Linked DNA regions of Homo sapiens: region 1 is linked to region 2. Evidence: promoter capture Hi-C in 16 types of primary human blood cells and fetal thymus (Javierre and others, 2016). All regions are on one chromosome and are shown on one strand. Each heading gives the region's core, a stretch centred on a gene start or on the middle of the fragment in contact. The rest is flanking DNA. Distances are from core to core; before and after follow the strand shown.

Region 1 (3,451 bases), core at 639-3,138, 810 kb after region 2:
GATTTCATATATGTATTCTAACTCCCCAAGTGCTTCATACCCATTTGACCTATATCACATTGTTTCCACAGAGCATCTCCCCAGACTGGCATTTTATAGAAATTTGCTTTGGAATATGTTACAGGGATGGTCTCCCAACAATGTGGAAAACCAAATAATGATGCTGCTGGCTCCACTTTGACACTGTCCTAAAATTTCAGATCCAGTCATTCTCAGCTAATAGGCTGGTATGGCTTGATATAACAAGTAGATGAATAATCACTGTGGACATTAGGATATTTCAAGAACTCCATCAACCAACTTGGCCTACCGACATTTATAGAACCCTCCATTCCCTCTCAGCAGAATACTCATTTTTCTCAAGTGCATTTGGAACATTTTTCAAGATGGATCATATTTAGGCTCATAAAATATGTCTCCATAAATTTAAGGTTATTTAAGTTCACACCATGTAAGTTCTCTAACTACAATGACTTTAAGTTAGAAGTCAGTAACAGAAAAATCTCTGGATCATTCCCAAATACTTCGAAGCTTAATAGCATATTCCTCAATAACTCATGGGTAAAAAGAAAATGAATACGGTAACTTCAGTGAAACTTATAGCACTAAATGCCTTCATTGGAAAAGAAAAAATACATCAGATTCCACTTCAGAAAACTAGAAAAAGGAGAGCAAATTAAATTCGTCCTAAATAGAAGAAAAGAAATTATGAAAATCAGAGTGAAGTATCAATTAAATGCAAAACAGTAAAACAATAGAGAAAATCAACTAAACTATTAGCTAGTTTTTTCAGATCAATGAAATTGATAAACTAACCATTGTGATAAGGAGAAAAAGGGAGATGATGCAAATTACTAACATTGGGAAAGAGAGGATGACATCACTGAAAATTCTATTAATATTAAGAAGATAATAAGGAAATATGATTAACAATTCTATGCCAATAAATTCAACAACTCAGACGAAATGGACAAATTCCATGGAAGACACAAACTACCAAAGCTTACTCAAGAAGAAACAGATAAACTAAATAGCCCTATGCCTATTAAAGAAATTGAATTTGTAGTTTAAAAACATTCCCACAGAGAGAACTCTAGGTCCAAATGGTTTCAATGGTCAATTCAACCAGTCAAGCAGTTAAGGAGGAAATAATACATTGAATACATTCTTGCATTAAATTAAAAAAGAAAGAACACATCCCAAATCATTATAGGAAGCCAATATTATGCTGATACTTTACTTTTTAAATATGTTCTTACATTTAACATACATTACTTTTCTTTTGTTTTAAATCGTTATTTTAAAAAGCTTGTTTGGTCTATGTTCCATTCACCTAAGGTGCTAAGTCTTAATTAGTACAGATAAATGAATCAGCATGAATAGTATATAGGCAGCTAATATATTACCTATTTCGGGTATCATAATACCTGTAATCCCAGCTACTCAGGAGGCTGAGGCAGGGGGATCCCTTGAGTCCTTGTGGTTTATAGTTCATCACAACACTGATCAGATGAAATAACACAAATGCAGTGACAGTGCTGAGCCTCATTCCCCATACATCCAGTGTGATACGAAAGCCAGGCTTGGGTACGAGAGCCAAATTCAGGGACAGGAGGGAAGGAGATAAAGAATGGTCACAAATTTGACCAGTCACTGGTAATTTACAGTGCCTCTGTTGACAGAGAGAGAGAGAAAGGGAGAGAAAGAAAGAGAGAGAGAGTAACTACAGGATTTTAACATGAAGCACCGAAACAGGCTGCAAGAGGGAATGAAAGCCTGACTCCTATTGCATCTGGTTAGCTAATTTGACAACGCTGCAAACTGTGAAGTCCTCATTAGGGAAAAAGTCAGGCTGGTGGGAGCAGGGGAAAGCAAAAAGAAGCAAACAAGCTACAAGTCTGCCTTTCTTCATGGTCCAGGACACACAGCCCTCCTGTGTAAATAACTCACAATCTTCCTGCGCCCGACTTATACCACCAGACACCTGCAAGCTCGCTCCCTGCAGCCTCGGCGTGATCGTAGTGTACATAGCCCACTCCAGCACAGTACCATCCTATGAAAGCCCCAGCAAGCCTTTGTCTCCTTGCAGTCAGCTCTGCCACACAAACGCTATCTGAACACAGGGCGCCTCTATCAGGAAAACCAATTTACTTAATAAGGGGATCTGAGATTTTGGCCCCTAATAATCAACTTTTTTAGTGTCTCTTGCTAAATCTACACACCATTATGTTTAATACGTAGCTTTCTAAACTCAGAGTCACCTGTTGGTCTCCTCATGGACCGAATGCAGGTCCACATCCAGATACAGCTGGCTGGGTGCTTGCTTAGGAACAGATACTGCATTCTGTCCTTTTCTTGCTTAGGAACGGAAGTTGCATTTTGTCTTCTTGAGAACTTGCTCTCGCACAGCTTGTACACTACTGCCACCTACTGGACAAACTAAGCTAAGCCGCCAGAGGTAAGCTTTCCACAGCTGTCATTCCAAATTACCTGACAAATACTTTGTCAACCAAGACTACCATTAATTAGGTCACCATATTATCCTAACTACTGTCATCTAGGAGGAAAGGGGCAAGAGCAGGCTTTATTTCCACTTATGAAAGTAGAATTAAATATTGAAAGGCAACCAGGCCAATGACTGTTTTTCTAAATAAGGACCTGAAGGACAGAATACTCATTTGGGAATGGCTGGAACCCTCATGGCAGGGTGGGGCGTGGAGGGGAAGATGGAGAACAAGGAATGAGGGAGAGAAAGAGCAATAATAATCCCAATGGAGTAGCCCTCCATGAACTTTATAACATTTCAATAAGATCAGATGTGCAAATAAGCCACTAAAAACTGATAGAACGCACTATCACTATCAGCTCATCAGGGAATGAACAGCAGGTCCACACACACCTTGGTCCTCAAACAGTTTACATAAAAAGCTGACGTTCAAGGACCAGATCAGTGCCCTTGGAGATGAACTAGGCCCAAGACACATATGGAACGGGCCTGTGGGTCATCGTGCTGCAGTTTCAGACTTCCCTGTTTTTGTCTTTATTCAATTTCACGAAGGCTTGAGAACTCTTTGGGAAGTCTTTTTCATCCCCACAGTTAGCTGCATCCTCCTAATTATGTATCTATGGTTTATAGCTTATCACAACACTTATCAGAATTTTTTTGAGACAGTCTCAAATTTATGAATTTATCAATGAAACACTGAGGACAATTGAGTCAGGAGCTGAGGCCATGAGCCAGGGAGCCCTCAAATGCAGCTAGAATCCATGGAGCCTGGCGTAGATAAGTGCAACACTTTGGGAATCTATTCCCCATTTTTCATAAGATGAAAGTGTTAAGATCATCATCTAGTGGGGGGACACTTGGACCTTGTACATAATTTTGTAATTAATCTGAAGATGAAACCGCCTTTGCAAAAATCGTATCAGTGATAAAACTGTGCCAATGAGG
Region 2 (3,908 bases), core at 1,237-3,736:
GCTGGATGGTCACTGGTGAGACTTGGGGTTCTATCCCTGTGGAGTTAGGGTGGGGTTAGGGGGAGGCTTTTTGCTTGTGTGAGGAATGGTTGCATTCTGCTAGATTCTACATTTGTATGTTTGGCATCCACTATATGCACGGCCAAACTAACAGCCAACTTTGTTACATCTCCCCTGCAATCAGCTTTTGCAGGTGCACTACAGTTATAGTACAAGCCCTCTGCCTAATCTTGACTCAGTATCCCCAACAGCACCATTTGTCTAACTCTCACACACCGAGCCAGTATTCCTCCTGCCACAAATCACCTCAGAGCTAGGTACTGGGCAATTAGAGACCATCCCTATAGCTCAGAGCCCACCAAGATTATTCCAACTATCTCATCGCAAGCTGCTTCCTTGCACTGCCCTGGTTTTCCCGGGGAAACCTCATAAAGGCTCGGGGCCAGGCTTCCCACATTGTGCCCTCCACCTCCTGACACTCCCTGGTGCTGCTCTGTGTGGCCCTGCGGGAATGTGCCACCCCTCCTGTTTCTAGGGATCTGTGAGTATAAACTCCTTCCTTTATGACAGTCACTTCTGTGTCTGCATGTCTTACCAAACCTGATTAAAACAAATTCTGGGTGAAAATTTTAGGACAATTAGATGTAAACATTTTTTTTCAAAGTGTGATGATGGAAAGTCGAGTGTGCACTGATGTTAGGAGCCAAAGAGCTAGATTTCGTGTGGCGGGGAGGGGGGTGCTTTCCAGCATTGAAACAACTTTCAAATATTTCAGGAATGTCCCCCCTCTTGAAGTGGGCAGAGCCCACCTTCCACATAGAAGCTCAAAACCCCAGATTCCTGCTTCCTTGGCCTTCCTGGCATCTGGTTTGGGAGCACATGCTTTAATCAGATGCATCTGTTTCGACCTTTGTATGCAGAGCTAGTGACACAAAGGAGCAGGGCTGGAGGAGAATTAACTGTGGCAGCGGTGGCAGCAGCAGGGATGGCTGCTTCCAGGGACAGCGGTGACAGCGGCACCCATGACGGTGCCAGGTTCACATGCAGCTCTGTAGCAGCAGGACCCACCATGCTGGCCGCGGGGCAGAGGCTTCCCTCTTCTCCCTGCTCTCCAAGCAGCCCCTCCAGATTTCTAGGTGCTTCTGTGAACCACCCGTTGTTCCTCAATAAAACCATTCTCCACTTAAAGTAATTGGTAGGTTTTTATTGCTTGCAACCAAGAATCCTGATGGATACAAGCTGTGATTTTCTTTTCTTTTCTTTCCTTTCCTTTCCTTTCTTTTCTTTTTTCTTATTTCTTCCCTCCTTCCCTTCCTTCCTTCCTTCAGTCTCCAAATGAAAAATGTATACATCTAACTTTATATATATGTAAATATGGTAAAATATTAACATTTATTAATTATGAATAGTGGAAATATGAGTGTTTATGGTTTTTTGGTATTTTATGTCTTTTAATTCTCTCAAAAGATGATTCTAGCAATCGCATGCACATGTGTACACACAATGCACGTGTGTGTTTGTGTTTATTTGTGCTAATTGACTCCTCATAGTAAACCTATGAGGCAGGAGCCATTGTTCACATCCTCTTTTTACATCTGAGGAAACTGAGGCATAGGAAGCTGAAGAGGCCTGTCCAGGATTATGCAGCTGTTCAAGAGCAGAGCTAGAAATTCAGCCTCAGCAGTCTGTGGCCGGGTCATGTCCAGGGCCTTTGCTTTTAACAAAATAAGGGAGATGAGCTAGCAAGTAGCTTGAGGGAAAGGCCGAAAGCAGAGTGTTTTTAGGGTGGAGGATGAGCTTCTTTAGGGGCTGAAGGGAAGGAACGAGTGGGGCAGAGAGGGAGGATCTGAGAAAGCCCAGGCTGTTAATAGATGGGGTGATGTCAAGATCACAGTGGGCCAGGATTCGCCATGCACAGGAGGAGACAGGAGTACTCATCTGATACTAGAGAAAAGGAGGCTTCACCGGAAAATCAAAGGCAAGGTCACCTGCAAGGAGGCTGACGGGGTGACAGAGAAGCAGCCACACCGGGTGGCCGCGCAAGTGACCGGTGGTCCTCTAGGGTGGTGGGGGGAGGGGTCTCACAGGGGAGGAGGGCAAGGAGAGAACCGTGGGCTGGCTGGCAGCTCTGTCCTTACTCCAATTTTTCCGATGCTATTTACTGACTTAGAAGGTAAATACATTCCAAGGTTCTTCAAGTTCTTTACAGCTGGGCTTGTTCCAAGGCTGGAATTTGTGAAGTGGATTCACATACAGTGAAGCTGTATTGACAGACAGACCCAGGACCCAGGACCCAGAACCTGTGGGTGCACTCAGGGGCCCCAGGCAGTGATCCTGGAGCCCAGGGGTCCAGAGAGCAGGGAAGGGAGCATCGTGGTGACTGGACAGAGCTGCATCTGTCCCCACCGGACATAGGCTGGAGAGTCACAGGCTCCTCCTCCTTCCCCTCCAGAGAGGCTGTGTGTGTGTGTGTGTGTGTGTATGTGTGTGTGTGTGTGAGAGAGAGAGAGAACAGCGTGAGCCTGTGTGCTTGTGTGCTGAGCCCTCATCCCCTCCTGGGGCCAGGCTTGGGTTTCACCTGCAGAATCGCTTGTGCTGGGCTGCCTGGGCTGTCCTCAGTGGCACCTGCATGAAGCCGTTCTGGCTGCCAGAGCTGGACAGCCCCAGGAAAACCCACCTCTCTGCAGAGCTTGCCCAGCTGTCCCCGGGAAGCCAAATGCCTCTCATGTAAGTCTTCTGCTCGACGGGGTGTCTCCTAAACCCTCACTCTTCAGCCTCTGTTTGACCATGAAATGAAGTGACTGAGCTCTATTCTGTACCTGCCACTCTATTTCTGGGGTGACTTTTGTCAGCTGCCCAGAATCTCCAAGCCAGGCTGGTTCTCTGCATCCTTTCAATGACCTGTTTTCTTCTGTAACCACAGGTAAGAAAGGTACCCAAGGCTTATGTTGAGGGCGGCATGCATGTGGAGAGCTTGTGGATATGGGGTCAAAGAAATACTAGCAGTTTCTGGGTACTCAGGAGGGGGTTATGTCTGAATGCTGGATGTCACCTGCTCCTAGAAATATTTTAGTCTCCTGGTTGTCCCTGCTGGAGCTGTCCACAGCCAGGTGACGATGAACACCTCCTGGCTAGGATGGCTAGCCCAGTCTCAGGAATAGTGGCTTTGTTACACTGTATCTGCTCCTATGTCTTTACTACTGCTGTCCATTCTTTTGTTCATTTATTTACTCATTCTGTAAATTGTCTATGTCCTTTAAAAGGGCTAAAAGACAGCAATGCTATTTACTGACTTAGAAGGTAAATACCTTCCAAGGTTCTTCAAGTTCTTTACAGCTGGGCTTGTTCCAAGGCTGGCATTTGTGAAGTGGATTCCTCCATCAGCTGGTGTGGTTGTTCAGATGACCTTCAAGATCCCACCCAACCTTGAGTGTTAAACTTCTGTGATTGAGCAAAACAGATATAAAAGCTAGAATTACACTCTCTAGCCCCTAAGCACCTTGAGTGCATTTATTTGGAAGAAGAAATCATACTGGTTTCTCTAATGGAGGGGCTTCTTTGGGAGTGTAATGTTGCCAGTTGTGAAAAAGCTGAGACCTGTATGCTTGGGGAGGTTCTGGACAGCAGAAAGGAACCAGGTGGGATGGAAGCAGCCTTTTGGGAGAAGGAAATGTTAGTAAAAAGAGGAGAATGTGGACTGGTGGGTGAGAAGTTGAAAACAGAATTAGTAGAACCATGGACAGGGAAGTGAGCTCAAATCACCTTGACCTCCACGGAACCAGGATTCAGGCAGGCTAGAGATGCTGCAGTGAGTGTGGGGGTGGGGTGGGGGTGGCCTGGAACTGGTGTACGTGAGCAGCGACACAAGCCCAGTGGGGACACTGATGTCCGAGCACTTTACGTATGCA

What was found. The method cuts DNA at HindIII sites, captures the fragments that hold promoters and counts their contacts. A CHiCAGO score of 5 or more calls a contact.
Region 1: a fragment that was not itself captured here is called in contact with the fragment with the promoter of CHRNA2 in region 2 in 3 of 17 cell types (M2 macrophages, erythroblasts and naive B cells); the score reaches 8.4 in M2 macrophages.

What each region holds. Positions count from the first base shown.
Region 1 is chr8:26,669,685-26,673,135 of GRCh38, reverse strand. No RefSeq gene overlaps it. Among named protein-coding and RNA genes, the nearest start is that of DPYSL2, 160 kb to the right of the region's middle. The HindIII fragment of the contact is 1,155 bases long and covers 1,311-2,465 here.
Region 2 is chr8:27,477,839-27,481,746 of GRCh38, reverse strand. CHRNA2 (cholinergic receptor nicotinic alpha 2 subunit) reads left to right here and starts at 2,486. Exons shown (of 7, transcript NM_000742.4): 1 at 2,486-2,923. The HindIII fragment of the contact is 14,056 bases long and covers 1-3,908 here.